2 separate regions of the Homo sapiens genome follow, and region 1 is linked to region 2. Evidence: promoter capture Hi-C in 16 types of primary human blood cells and fetal thymus (Javierre and others, 2016). All regions are on one chromosome and are shown on one strand. The core of a region is centred on a gene start or on the middle of the fragment in contact, and the rest is flanking DNA. Distances in the headings are between cores, read along the strand shown. Region 1 holds the start of LINC01621 (long intergenic non-protein coding RNA 1621). Region 2 holds the start of HTR1B (5-hydroxytryptamine receptor 1B).

Region 1 (7,491 bases), core at 3,258-5,757, 2.3 Mb before region 2:
CAACTCCAAGAATAGGACAACAGGTTTTGGAAAACAGACCTATGCCTTGTAAGCATAGGCACAATGCAAATGTTGATTTGTTGACAGCTGAAAGTAGGAAAAAAGAAGGAACCGAAAAAGGACCAATCCTTGGTATTAGTCAGGACTTTTTAGTACAAATTCAGAAACCTCATATCACACTAACATTTATTATTATAAAGGCATTTATTGGCTCATAACTGAAACACCCAGCAGTACACATGGCTTCAAACACAACTGGAATTGGGGGCACAAGGGATGTCACCAGGTTCAGTTTCTCTCTATCTCAGCTTTTCTTGCTCTATGGTGACTTGATTCCCAGCTCCGCTTTGCAGAGCTTAGACAGCTTCCAGGCTCACACTGTTTTTACCATTATCTGTGTGAGTGGAAAATAGTACCTGCCTCTTCCTGGACTGTATTAGTGAAAGTGTCAGTGGGTCTTACTGGCTTTCTCTGAGCCAGTCACTGCAGCCTGAGGAATATCACAGATCAGAAAGGACTGCTAAGATCTAGGAGAGTCCAACCATATGTAGGTCAAAGTTACAGGACAGGGACTAAGGTCCAGGGAAGAAGATCCAGTTCCTGCCCCACTGATAGAGGCAGCCTGAATTTGGGCAAGTTTCTTCATCTCTCTCAGCTTCATTTCTTCTTGGATAAAAATTCCTAGTTTATAATGTTTAGAGGATTAAATGAAATAAATAAAGCACCTAACAGAATAGTAGACTCTCAATACATTTTAAAGATGATTTAATTTTTATTCTATTTCTTTTCTGGCCTTTGAGTCCAGTCACTGCATAAGCATCAATGACCACTGTCGCCACTAGGTGGCAATCATGTGATGGAAGGTAATGGCCTGACTTTCTGGCCAGTGAAAAATTAAGAATTGGCTGAAACCTGACAATTGGCAGTGAGAGGAAAGCGTGGGGGACTGTGAGTCCAATTCCTGCTGCACTGAAACCACGCTGTGTGACCTTCATCAAGGTCTGAATTGATCTATAGCCTGGATTTCCTCAAGTAAAACTTGGAGGCCAATTCAGTCTTCATTTGTCTATAAAATCTTTTGAATCTGTAAAAAGAGAGTCTTATAGAGTAATAACTGTGACTGTAATCTCAAAAGCCAAAAACTGTTCAACAGTCTTGATTGTTAATATATAGCTTAAAAATATGATTGTATGAAGCATAATCCATTCATTTATTGCTAAGTTTTAGCTACCCCAGGGATCCAAAAAGAGTTCATGCAATTTTGTAAGGTGACTAATGGGCTCGCAGAGATGCTGTCAAGTTATACACAGCCCAGAAAATCATCCTCTGAGGCATGCAAGTCAGAAAACTCACTATTAAAAAAAGTCACACTGAGCAGCTTCAAAAGTATTTTTCCGCCATGTAATTATGTTTTAATGCTAGGTTCTTAAAATCACTTGGAAAAGAAGAAGCAGCTTAAAAAATTTCAGGTCTGAAATGTGTTAGAAGTATCTGGAGCAGCAGGAGGATGAATCAGGAAGTGACATTTAATTGGGTTTAAGAACAAAAATGATGACTCTCCACTTTTGCATGAATCAAGCCTTTATAACAAAGTTGAAATAAGATGATGTGATAAAAATTAGCATTTATCTGATATAATAGATTGGGGGGATATTGTATTTTCTTAATATGAAATTCTTTAGTATAAGGAAGTTATGTGCTGGTTCCATCTTGATTAGTATAAAAATCCTTGTAAAAGGAGAACCAATTGAAATTCCAGGGGTGTCCACACGTTTCTTCATTCCATGGAGATGTGGAACAGCCTAGTCTAAATACTTGACCTTTATTTCTCAGCATGCTTTTTTTTTAGGATAAAGCCTCCTGAATTCTTAAACCTGGAAGGTAGGGGCGAGGATTTGTTGGTGGCGTGTGGATCAAATGAGTTCAGGTTTTCTTTATCCTTTATAAATCTCAACTTTGCTTTACACAGTGCCTTATCAGAGGGGAGAGATCATTAAGGTATATATGTGGGGTTTTTTTATTTGTTATTTTTTTGCTGCTATAGAGGTATCTGAGAGAATGAGGACTGTTTTGCTTTTACCTCTCTATTTTTCCCTTCTCTATTTAAAGGAGGTAGCCAGAACCGTTGCCCTCTGGGTGGTTTGTTGTGAGGTCAGAGCAGAAAGCCCTGACCTTTAAGATTCCTTTAAGGCTTAAGATGCAGCATGCTGCCTGTGCCCCCAGTTTCTGATTCAGCAAGTCTGGGATGGAGTTCAAGAATCAAGAATTGGCCTATATATATAAACTTTAAGTTCTGGGATACATGTGCAGAACGTGCAGGTTTGTTACATAGGTATACACATGCCATGGTGGTTTGCTGCACCCATCAACCGTCATCTACATTAGGTATTTCTCCTTCTAACTGTAACTACGGGACCCACGTGCTGAGAACCACTGCATTAAGGTAACTGCTCCTCCTGGCCACCTGGAAACCTACCTCCCTTGCCTGAAACCTGAGCTCACTGAGAGGGCTGGCACGGGCGGGAATGGGTCAATGAGTTTGTCCAGGGAACATGGAAGCTTTTGAAATGGGAGGAAGGGACATTCCCAAAGCCCCTTTCTTGGCACTGCCCCCAGTCAAGCTGCTACTCAGGTGAGAATGCTGTTTGAAGGGAAGCAGCTTGGTGCAGAACCAGGAGAGCCAGCCGCCTCAGTTAGAGCCTCGGAATGAAGATTCAGAGCACTCTGGACCCACTGAGAGACTTGCTCATTTTCTGGGCACCAAATAATCCTCCCAATTTTTAGGTAAACCCAGGGAGGAGGGGAGGAAACAAATAATGAAGATTGAATTTCTTGCAATTCAGTGACATAGGGGATGGCAGCCATATTGAATTTGATTTGAAGAAAATAGGTATTTCCTGCCTACCCAACTTTTAGTAGATGCCACATCAACTACATGAATTTCTGGATTAAAACATACAATCTACATATATTAATATTTGTGGCCTTAATACAAGTTCTACCCTTGCCGTGGCTCTGTGTTCACTTGGCAGGGAGGGGCAGAGCTTATAAACTGAGCTGTGCAAATCTCACCCTTGTTCAACCATGTCTTGCTGAGCAGGCACATGGGGGCTGAAACCTAATCAGGCTGAGAGAAAAGGGTGACGTTTGCTAATTTTCTAATGTACCCACATAACTCCTGCATAATCTGACATCATATGAATATATCACACTTAAGGCATTTTCTCATTGACTTCTACGTGGTTTCTACTTTTCATTGCTATAACAAATATCCTAATACGTTTCTCCTGCACTTGTGGGTTTTTTTGAATTAGATACCTGAAATTTTGACTTGATTTTTTTTTTTCTTACAGAAATTCTGTCAATGGGACATGCATGTGAGTTTAGAAGCAATTCTTTCTTTAATATGCAGAGGCTTCTGGGAGTGCTCAGGCCATCAACCAAAGGTGTTCATTAGCCCATACAAGCTGCTTTCCTCAATTTCTAGATGAGATGTACTGTTATGAGAAAATGGAAGAAAAATTACAGGAGAACAAATAGGGAATTGCTAAGATATGTACATCTGTAGTGAGGAGAGGAGTTGGGGGCTTGGGGGCAGGGGTGAAATGCCTAGCGACTTAAATGACATAAGGCACTGATTTCTTGAGTGTTGAGTAAAGGGATGTTAGAAGATAGAAAATTGCCAAGGATTAGTTTGTAACTCAAAATTATAGCTCAGTCCAATCCCATTTCCCACTAAGAGGGGGAAACATCTTTGTCTCCCTCTTCTTTCCCCTCTCCCACAGGAGTAGCTGACTCCTCCCTGTTCCAGGACCCAGGGCTCAGGCTGACTTGTGTTAAGCTTCCATCTGGGTTAAACAGATTTCAGGAAGATCACGTGGAAAATTAAATGCCACCGCAGCATTGTTTCTATAGGAAATGAGTTTCTCTTTGCAAACAATTATTTGCTTTCGGTACACAACCACTTATCATAAGGAGGGAGCCTGTCTGTGCTTATAAAGCTTAAATTTGAAGGACTCCAGTTATCTTAATTTAAAATTAAAATAGCCTAATTTGAGAAGAAACCATGTTCTTAAATTTCCAATAGATGTTCCAATATGTATTTACTGCAATTTCTATGTTGGGGTGGTTTGTTGTCATTTTAAAAGTGAGGCTGGAACACTATAATATGTCCTGTCTTCTTTTTGCCTGTTAAACAAGGCGAGCTAGGGCAGCTTCTCAAAAGGCTCAAGAGGCACAGTCAGTGATCTCAGGCCACCCTGGATGGCGGGAGGCCACGAGAGGGGGCTTGCACCACCAGCTGCAGGGAATTGTTAAATTCCTGACCTAGTTTTTGAAACTATTCAAGGAGAAAGCAGGGACACAAATACTAGCTCTAGCCTCGTTCAATGAGACCACGTTCCTGTTTTCATTTCACTTTAGCCGCATTTGTTCGAGCAGCAGGTGAAGCGCCTTTCAAAAGACTGTCATCTCCAAGGGAAGTCATCTGTTTTACATTAATTGTCCATTAGTCTCCAAGCCTCGATCCATTAAAGTCCTCAGCCACTCATTACGTATATTGTGCAGGAGTCCTGCTGTCAGCTTTTCAATGCAGAGCTGTTTTTCTGCATCTGACTTAATTGCTCTAAGTGCCTGTTCCTTTGAGAGAGCCTAGAGTGTACCAATTAATGCTAACTTTTTCCTTGCTAGGTTGAACACATAAGCCATGGTGAGGCCAGTTCAGCTGCTATTTACTCGAATTTATTAGAGACCCTTCTGCCTTAAGCTCACACAGTGGGTAGTTTACATCAGTACTGCCCTGTTTGCCTGATGACTCCTGGATATGTTTTGAATGGACTTAATTTTCTATAGTGAAAATGCTCCATAAATTTACAATCTATCCATGTTATTTTGAAGAGGGGTTTAAATTCCATTTGCTCCTGATTAGTTTAAACATGTAATTTTTAAATGCATGTGGCATTCTAAACAACAGCTTGGATGAAATTGACTTTGTTGATGGAAAAATTAAGCTTTCATCCTTTCAAATGACAGCTCGAGGGGTGGCCGTACAATAATTTAATTACCGTAGCTTCCTTAATTACAGCCGACTCACCTACCTTTAGCTCCATTACCGTTTTCCTTAATAAACACGAATAAATGGACGAAAAACAAAAATTAAGAAAACCAATCTTAGAGTAGCTTTTATAAAATTTTGATAGGCATAGAGGCAAATACAAATATGTGAGACTCAGAGAAACATATTAACCCCTTCAACTCTAAAAGAACTAGAAAAACCACAATTTTGTTTTTTTCTTTTTAAAATTGTACCATAGTCCCACTTATTAATACTAAATTTTATATTTTATTAATATTCAAAATATCCAATCAATATAAATTCCTGTCAAGATGGTAATATATCTATAAATTCAGATTCTGAGTAATGACCTGATATTAATTGAATTTATTGCAGGTTTTTAAATCTTTACTACAGTTTAATTCCATCCTATAACTAAGTTTGTTAACAAATGGCCCTGTTAATATATAATTAAGTACCTGTGTATTGATTTGCTTAATTACATCTAAACAATACCAAAAAATAAAAACCACACAGATGCACCCAGACTGATTTAAATTGCAGGATATCATGAAAATTAAAGACAGACTTCTGTGTCTTATTTCCTGAGGATTGTTGGGGAAATATGCACTTTTGGCATAAGCAAACTACTTAGAACAAAAATAGCAACCATTCTGGGAAACATTTACATTAGGTGAAATCTGTCTCTGAGGCTGTCTGCCTTCCACCCAAGAGCTCCCTGACATGGCAGCGTCCCCTCTCCTCTCTATTCTCTCACCTTCCTCAGCTGGAGGCCAGTCGTGTATCTCATGTCACATGGCCCTGGTTAGTAACAAGGCATTATTAGCAAAGACAGCTATTTAGAGGTAGGGTTTTGAACTCTCTGAGGATTATCATTTTCTTCATCTTCACTATCTTCATCCTCATCTTCAATCAACAGTTTTGAGAGCAGACTGTGTACAGAGCACAGAGAGCCACTGAAGTTGTTCCCCTCTCCCCAAAATAGTAACCTTTATCATCTAGATGAATGAGCTCCTCTGATAAATTCTACAAGTATTGTTTCTGCTTCATGGGCATTGAGAGTGGCCTCCTCCATCTTTACAGAAGGAAATTATCACCTCCAAGTTAGACTAGTTTATTCCTAGAAAATTCCTTCAATACCCCCTCATCTGTAGGATATTCATTTAAAAATCCTATCAGCTTTTTTTCTCAACAGTTTTCAGGAAGAGAGCTTTGGAAAATACTAAAATATCAGTCTAACAAATTCAAAGACATATATTAGGGCCTTTAAAACCTCATACACTTCCCCTTGGCCTCCCGGATAATGCTCCTTAATCCTAATTAGCTTTTACAGCATGATTAGTGTTTGCCAATGATGATTAGAGGTGCCAAATTCACCAAACCAATTAGTAGCAGAATTGTAGGATCCTGGTGCGGCTTTATTTTGATTCTGATTCACCTTTTACATCATCTTTGTCGTTGCCTCATTTGTCCAAGGTAGCAATGCTTCTATATTTCTGTGTTCTCATTTTGACTGTAGTGTTTTGATTGAGAGTCTGGAATGTTGTTCACACAAGGGGAATCTTGCCCAAAAGAATATTACTTCTAAGGTCTTCACTCAGGAGTTTAGTCATGTACTTGTGCTGCCTTTGTATTAAAACTCTTTGTATTAAAACCCTTCTGATTATGGTTGAATCTGTTCCCCACCTCTGACAGATACACCATAGGGTGACCCCTAATGAGTCATGCTCTTAATCCCCTTGCCATGAATGTGGGTGGAAATCATAACTTGCTTTTAACCATAAGATACAACAAAAGTAAGGAAATACCACTCCTGTAATTATATTTATGGCAAAGTCGAAGGGACTTTTTTCAGGTATAATTAAGATCCCTAATCAAGTGACTTTTAGTTAAACAAAAGAGCATTTACCCTCAGTGGGCCTGGCCAAATCAGTGAGCTTTTTAAAAGAGGGTCCAGGCCCTCCCTGAAGTTCGAGACCTGAAGCAGTAAAGACTCTTATTTCTGTTGCTGGCTTTGAAGAAGCAAGCTGCCATTAATTCTACAGTCATAAAGACATGAATTCTGCCAACAACCTGCAGGAGCTTAGAAGCAGATCCTAGCATTTCCATTGCATCCTCCAGATGAGAATGCAATCCACCTTGATTTCAGCCCTGTGAGACCCTGAGCAGAGAACCCAGTTATGACATGCCCAGATTCCTGACCCACAAAAACTGTGAGATAACAAATGGGTATGGTTTTTAGGCCATCAAATGTGTGATTATTTATTATGCAGCAATAGGAAATTGATGCACCACTCTTGCAATAAAGATACTTTGTTTTATTATCCAGTATCCCATATATCGTTTTTAAATAAGTAGATCATTATACATGAACTCCACACAAGGGCTTCTTATACTTTGTTGTTAGAAAACTTACC
Region 2 (7,569 bases), core at 1,912-4,411:
ATGTGTTTTAAAGTGAGAAAGGAATACTTGAAATGCGGAAGTCAGGTTAAGGAAATGGGGTTCTTCACTGAACTCTGCCAACATCCGGTCAATATGATGGCGGTGTGTGTTTAAGCAGCTCTTTACCAAAGAGGGTAAAATCAAACTGCCTACAAGGGGCGGATTCCTCTGGGAGTCTGGGACTCTGCGAAGCAGTGGAGGCATGGCTGGAGAAAGCCACAGGTCCCCAAACCGCTAAAGCCAAAAACCGTGTGGGGAACAAATTTTGCTTTGTTTTTTCTCCGTCCCATGCTCCCGAGCAGAAATTAAAAGAGGAAAGGTCGCATGGAGCTGGTTACATTCCTGTCGGCCTTCCCCCGCTTCCCATCCCTTTAACACTTGTCTCTAATCGTTTCCAGTTCTCCTAGGATAACGGGAAAATTGTTTCCTGGCACCCCGCACTCCCACAGGACACACCCGCAATCGCACACACTTTTGATCCGTCCTGGCCAATGCCCCCACCTAGCGGTTTAAACTCGCCGGCTTTGCTTCCCTCTTCTATGGTTTCTAAGTGAGCGCTGCAGTTGACAAAAATAATTGTTTATCTAGGTGGATGGGGTGGGAGAATGGGAAGGATCCCTTAAAATGTGGTGAAAATGAGGCTTAAGGTTGGTGGCAAAATGCTAGGTGCTAGGACTGGAGGAGAAAAAGAGAGAAGGCTGTGCTTTTATCCTCAGGGTGGCTGCTGCAGCCCAGACCGCATCTAGAGGACGTCCTTGAAGAGCTGCCACCTTAGTTAAAGGAGTACCCTCACTCTCAATGCATGCATGTGTGTATGTGTGTTTTTCTTCAAAACACTTAACACTACAGAAAAGTATAAGTATTAATTATTTACTTGTTCATGTAGTTATTGTCTGTCTCTTCTAGAATGTAAACTGCTGGAAAAGAGGGTCTGAGTCTACTCCCACTGGCCTCCATACCTCGGATGCCTAGAAAAATACTCAGCATAGAGTAGGCACTCTATTTTTTGCCTGCTTGCCTGGTTTAGAGAACCGGGAATTAAGGGAACTTGGGTTTGTGCTTTATTGCCTTGGGTAAAAAGCTCTTCTTTCAAAGGATCTCAATTACTCTTCCTCTAAAACTGGGTGGAGGGATCAGATCAGATAGCCTTAGGTTCTGACACAGAATGATTCTCTTTAAAATATATGTGCGCTTAAACAGATGAATTCATTTACAATGCAGTTTTTATTAGATACACTCTAGGTGCCAAACATGGATCTAGGCTCTAGGAATTCGTAGTGGGGATCATTTAATCCTTCGAGCTGAAAATACCTTGTCCTTTCCTGGAGCTTTTCTTCATACTTTCTGATTTGCATCTCTACCCTACATTTGTTTCTGTTGAGGTCAGAGGAGAAACTGAGGACAGGGGATCCGTCCCTGGTCATGAGACCTAGGTACTGGTATTGCATGCTGCAGCTTATGGCTGACATTCCCACATATTAGTTGAAGGCAAAGGAGACACACAAGATGGTGCTGATGATGGTTCCAGTCCTCCCCGCCCCACCATCCCCCTTTTTTCTTGAATTCTGATGACCTCCTTTCTAGGTAGGCTGTTGGAAGGAACACGCTTACTGGCAACTGTTTTCCAGAGGCACTGAAGCACTGAGCAGCTGGAAGAGGATGGTGGAGCAGAAGGTTTAATTTCACATACAGTTGGCTTCTGTTTGTGATAACTTTTACATTTTCGCAGATAGCTTGTCTTTTTCCCTGTTGACTCATAGTTGAGTGAAAAACACAAATTTCTAAAACTAGATGAAAAAATAGTTTTTATTGTATCAAGAGTTAAGGACGGCAAAGTACAAAATGCAAACATTGGGCCCTCTACAGCGATATTACTGGTGCCTCCTAACCTGGGTGTGGCCATCAGGGCTGGATATGATTTTAGAGCGGAGAGGTCAGAGACCAGGGCTTCCCCGCCTAACACTGGCCTCCTAGGGTGGGAGTGGTAGGCAGGAGCCTAGGGCCAGACTGCTGGACTAAACCTGTGACCATGGCTAAGGACATGGGTCTCACTGGAGGTCAGCGCAGCAAGCTCTGATGTCCGTAGAGGCGAGAACAGGACGCCTTCTTCCCCTGACCAGAAATGCAGCTCCAGGTTGTCAGGGCTGGGAGGATGGCCCAGGGTGGGAAGCGGGGAGATAGGGCGGTAGGACCCGGCGGGAGCTTCCTTGGCCAGGAAAGGAACAGGGCGGGGGGAAAAGAGGGAGGGAGAGAGAAAAAGGGAAGGTGATGGGGAGCGGGCGTCCGCACCCGCCGCGCCGCACGAGTTGCACTGCTCTGGCGGACCGGACCTGGACTCTATATAAAGAGCCCATCTGCTCCGTAGCTCGCACGCTTCTCCCGGGCTGGTGCACGCCGCGTCCCTCCAGCTCCCCCAGACACCTGCCCCTTCCCAGTGTGCCGCGCCAGGTCCTCCAGACCCGCGCACCCAGTGGCATGGCTCCGAGTGGCTCCCGTGGGACCAGGGTGGCGGTGGCGGCGGCGCGGCCCGAGCAGCCGCAACTCCAGCCCCCGTGTCCCCCCTTTTATGGCTCCGTCTCCGCGGGGCAGCTCGTCCGAGTGGCCAGAGAGTGAAAAGAGAGGGAGGGCAGAGCTCCGGCGCGAGGCGCGGCGCAGCGCTGCTCCTAGACTTCACCCCACCCAGCTCTGGCGGCCGCTGCAGCCCCCCAAAAGTGCCCCAGCTTGGGGCGAGGGGTGGGAATGCAAGATCTCGGGACCTCTCGCTGGCCTGCAAGCTTTGGTCTCTACACCTAGGAAACTCCTGTGGGCAAAGTCTGCAGATCCAAAAGCGTCCAGGTTAGGAGACGCTCAGCCTCAAGCAACTGGGGTAAGAGATCCCATTTGGTCAAAGCCTTCTCCTCAAGCAGTACTTCACCCTCCTGCACTAGACGCCTCCAGGGAGCTGGAGCGGAGCAGGGCTCGGTGGGCCAGCTCTTAGCAACCCAGGTCTAAGACCCGGTGTGGAGAGGAACAACCACAGACGCGGCGGCTTAGCTAGGCGCTCTGGAAGTGCAGGGGAGGCGCCCGCCTGCCTTGGCTGCCGCACCCATGACCTCTAGTTTCAGCTGTGAACCTGGGCGGAGGAATAATTGAGGAACTCACGGAACTATCAACTGGGGACAAACCTGCGATCGCCACGGTCCTTCCGCCCTCTCCTTCGTCCGCTCCATGCCCAAGAGCTGCGCTCCGGAGCTGGGGCGAGGAGAGCCATGGAGGAACCGGGTGCTCAGTGCGCTCCACCGCCGCCCGCGGGCTCCGAGACCTGGGTTCCTCAAGCCAACTTATCCTCTGCTCCCTCCCAAAACTGCAGCGCCAAGGACTACATTTACCAGGACTCCATCTCCCTACCCTGGAAAGTACTGCTGGTTATGCTATTGGCGCTCATCACCTTGGCCACCACGCTCTCCAATGCCTTTGTGATTGCCACAGTGTACCGGACCCGGAAACTGCACACCCCGGCTAACTACCTGATCGCCTCTCTGGCGGTCACCGACCTGCTTGTGTCCATCCTGGTGATGCCCATCAGCACCATGTACACTGTCACCGGCCGCTGGACACTGGGCCAGGTGGTCTGTGACTTCTGGCTGTCGTCGGACATCACTTGTTGCACTGCCTCCATCCTGCACCTCTGTGTCATCGCCCTGGACCGCTACTGGGCCATCACGGACGCCGTGGAGTACTCAGCTAAAAGGACTCCCAAGAGGGCGGCGGTCATGATCGCGCTGGTGTGGGTCTTCTCCATCTCTATCTCGCTGCCGCCCTTCTTCTGGCGTCAGGCTAAGGCCGAAGAGGAGGTGTCGGAATGCGTGGTGAACACCGACCACATCCTCTACACGGTCTACTCCACGGTGGGTGCTTTCTACTTCCCCACCCTGCTCCTCATCGCCCTCTATGGCCGCATCTACGTAGAAGCCCGCTCCCGGATTTTGAAACAGACGCCCAACAGGACCGGCAAGCGCTTGACCCGAGCCCAGCTGATAACCGACTCCCCCGGGTCCACGTCCTCGGTCACCTCTATTAACTCGCGGGTTCCCGACGTGCCCAGCGAATCCGGATCTCCTGTGTATGTGAACCAAGTCAAAGTGCGAGTCTCCGACGCCCTGCTGGAAAAGAAGAAACTCATGGCCGCTAGGGAGCGCAAAGCCACCAAGACCCTAGGGATCATTTTGGGAGCCTTTATTGTGTGTTGGCTACCCTTCTTCATCATCTCCCTAGTGATGCCTATCTGCAAAGATGCCTGCTGGTTCCACCTAGCCATCTTTGACTTCTTCACATGGCTGGGCTATCTCAACTCCCTCATCAACCCCATAATCTATACCATGTCCAATGAGGACTTTAAACAAGCATTCCATAAACTGATACGTTTTAAGTGCACAAGTTGACTTGCCGTTTGCAGTGGGGTCGCCTAAGCGACCTTTGGGGACCAAGTTGTGTCTGGTTCCACAGGTAGGTCGAATCTTCTTTCGCGGTTTCTGGGTCCCAGCGAGGCTCTCTCTCCTGGGCAAGGGCAATGGATCCTGAGAAGCCAGAATAGTCCTGAGAGAGAGCTCTGAAAGGAGAAGTGTTGAAACTAAATGTAGAGCTTCCCTGCCCAGGAGGAGGCTCACTTCCTCCCCTCAAGCCCCGGGCTCAGCACTGACCCTGCGGCAGCCAATCCCAAAGGGGGTTGCAACTTTTAAAAATTGATAATGGAAGGGAATCCCTGCCCTGCTTTGGTATCGTGGATAATGCCCACTAGAAGCAGTGTACTTGTAATTGTTGTCTGAAGCCTGTCTGAGACAGATCTACATACAGCCTGGCAGTACTTGAACTAGACGCTTAATGCCCTGTGTTTTTGGGGGGAGAACTTTGTGTTACAGCTTAATTTAAGAACAGTTACTTTGGCATCATTCAGTCTTCACTTTTTGTCTATTTAAACTTGGTTGGAGAAACTTGTGGATTTGGTGCTTCAAACCCTATGTGTGGCTTGGATGGCGCAGAGAAACCTTGAAGAGTTAACAGCAAAATTCTGATGCTGAGATCTCTATTTTTATTATACTTGAAACTATATGGGGGTGGGTGGGTGGGAATGGGAGATGAGGAGTGTTAAACTGAGAATCAACACCTATGATTGTTTGTTTTCTGCAGATTTACAATTTTGTAATTCCTGTTTAGCGATTGTCAAGCCACAACTCTAACAAACAAACCATTATGTGTGCTAGTGCCGAAGTCTGCAGACTGCTTTATTTTTTCTCTTAATTTCATGTACCTGTCACTTTACACATTTAAATCCCCATAAATGAAGGGTATGATGGGTGACTCAGCCCACACTGCTGCTATATTTCTTACTAATGCAATTGGTAAAACCGATTAGTATTGGAAATATACTGTTTCTTAACAAGAAAAGTGTCTTTATTTCTTATCCAATTTAGTGAGATGTGAAGGAGACTGATGACATGGGGATAGTTCTTACACAATTGAGGAATGGGGTGGGGGCAATAGGAGGATGTATATTTTGACTTGTAAAAAAATCTTAAAATGCATGAAACTTTTATCTGATAGTCATTTGCACTCTCCTTCCCATCTGTGATTCCTTGTGTGCTAACATATAAAGAAACCAAGAGAACTATCTTCCTTCTCCAGAAACCTTAAAAATACAGTTAAGGGCCCTAAAAACGATATTGAAAAGAAAATAAACTTGTTTCTTTTTTGTTGTTGTTGTTATTGAAGTTTGGGCAGGAGAAAAGATTGCTAGAAAATGACATATAAGAACTTTAGAAAAGCTTAGAGAAACTAAAATTGAGCCTGTTTTTGTCTTGTTTTTTGTTTGTTTAAAAAAGAAAAAATTGCAGAACCAAACCTCAGACTTACTAACAATCAGGAAACTGGCAAGCTTTTGACCTTTGTAAATTTGTTACCAACCTGATATCTCAATTAATATAATATCTGGAATACTTTAAATTTATCAGTCTTTTCAAATTTCAAGAATACTTAGTTATTTCAAATTTCCTCTGAGAGCTCCCTAATACAGGATAAAGTCATGAAATAAAATATGAAAAAAATGTATATTTTAATAAGAAGTAGCCCTGAGGGATTATCTGCACGGAAAAAAATGTATATGTACAGCATTTAACATGCCAAAGAAAATTCACACTCCTTTCCTCAGAGGGCATTCTGCAGTTGATACCTTTTGTCTGCAGAAGCAAGTTGTCTTTGTGAAATGGATTCACTCCTTGCTTGAAACTCCCCAGTCCTGTTTGTCAGACAATAAATACATTGAGCTGAAGTACACTGCTTGCCTACTGTGCAGACCTTCACCTTGAGTAATCACTCTTGAAAATATACTATTCAAAGATTCACACATAAGCTAACTAAAAAGGGGAGTTTTGATCAATATTTATACCTGTCACTGGTGTGAGAGAAAATTTTAGGCATTAGATTTGCCTATACTTCTGCTGGATCCCAAGTTTCTTTGTTTGCTTTTTGTGATATTTCTCCTATGGAGGAATGTGCATAGAGCGTGGTGTTTGTTTTTATGTTATTAATACTGTGGTCTTCTGTTTATACAGTTGTATTTTCTTTGGTCCTAAGAGGCAATTAAGTCAACTTCTAAGAGCCTTAGGGGGAAACATTAATTGAAACAAATAGCCACTTTCAAATGATTTCTTTATAGGGTACCTGCAATGATGGTGTCCTCACATTAACAAAACACAATCAGTTTAGTCGAATGGGTTGTTTGCCATTTTGTAGATTAACCACCTAAATTATTGCTTGACTATTTGGCTGTATTGCCTGGATTTGGGGCATATTGTATGAAATAGAAGCTTGCAAACCCTTATAGTTATAAGAGATATAGAATCATCATTCAGCATTGCACATGATTATGCAAAGTGTAGTATTCATCCCAGGGGTATGTAGTTAAGACTGTTAAGCTCCTTTTCAGTTACTGTTGCCTATAGCATAGTTTATTTCATAAACTAGGCACATGGCTTTTTTGCAGAACATGAAGCGGGAGATGGAAATGTTTAACTTACATAGCAATGGAAATATATTTTCATTGGCTGTGGTAATAAACAACATTTTCCATATTGTTTAATTGCACAAATTTTCACAGAAATATATGAATGTATACTCACTCAATATTACCAGTATTGTCTTGTGTTTCTAGGAATTTTAGAGTTTCCTTTTAAAAATGGACACTACACCCATGAATGAATGTTTATTGAGTTCAACAAATTTTCTAAAGAACAATATTCTTAACTTTTCCTCTCTATTATCTTAGTTTTGTCTTCTTTAACCAGGAAACCCTGAGAAGATTATAATTCACTGAAGCAGTAAAATATCAGATTATGTGTATTTGATGGAGTTGCTGTGACTGAAAATTGCCTTTGGTATTCCATCTTTCAGGAAATGTATCATTGGAAATGAAATTTAGGAAAATAAATAAAAGTCCTTTTGTGTTCTAAAAAGCGTCGGGTAGTAGTTCTATTATTATGGAAAGATTGGTTCCTTGGATTCTGGGGTTGTGTTTAGGAGTTTGACCCTTCATGA

The links. Contacts are between HindIII fragments. The CHiCAGO score rates a contact against its expected background, and 5 or more counts as called.
Region 1: a contact is called between a fragment that was not itself captured here and the fragment with the promoter of HTR1B in region 2, in 1 of 17 cell types (total B cells). The highest score is 6.2, in total B cells.

What each region holds. Positions count from the first base shown.
Region 1 is chr6:79,807,413-79,814,903 of GRCh38, reverse strand. It overlaps LINC01621 (long intergenic non-protein coding RNA 1621), which reads left to right and starts at 2,658. Exons shown (of 5, transcript NR_131786.1): 1 at 2,658-2,784; 2 at 3,354-3,377. RefSeq lists an enhancer at 7,233-7,491. The HindIII fragment of the contact is 1,008 bases long and covers 4,004-5,011 here.
Region 2 is chr6:77,459,083-77,466,651 of GRCh38, reverse strand. HTR1B (5-hydroxytryptamine receptor 1B) reads left to right here and starts at 3,161. Exons shown (of 1, transcript NM_000863.3): 1 at 3,161-5,728. The coding sequence starts at 3,249. The coding sequence ends at 4,421. The region is part of intron 5 of LOC105377864; the gene reads right to left. RefSeq lists enhancers at 112-171, 382-431 and a silencer at 4,151-4,295. The HindIII fragment of the contact is 3,027 bases long and covers 2,777-5,803 here.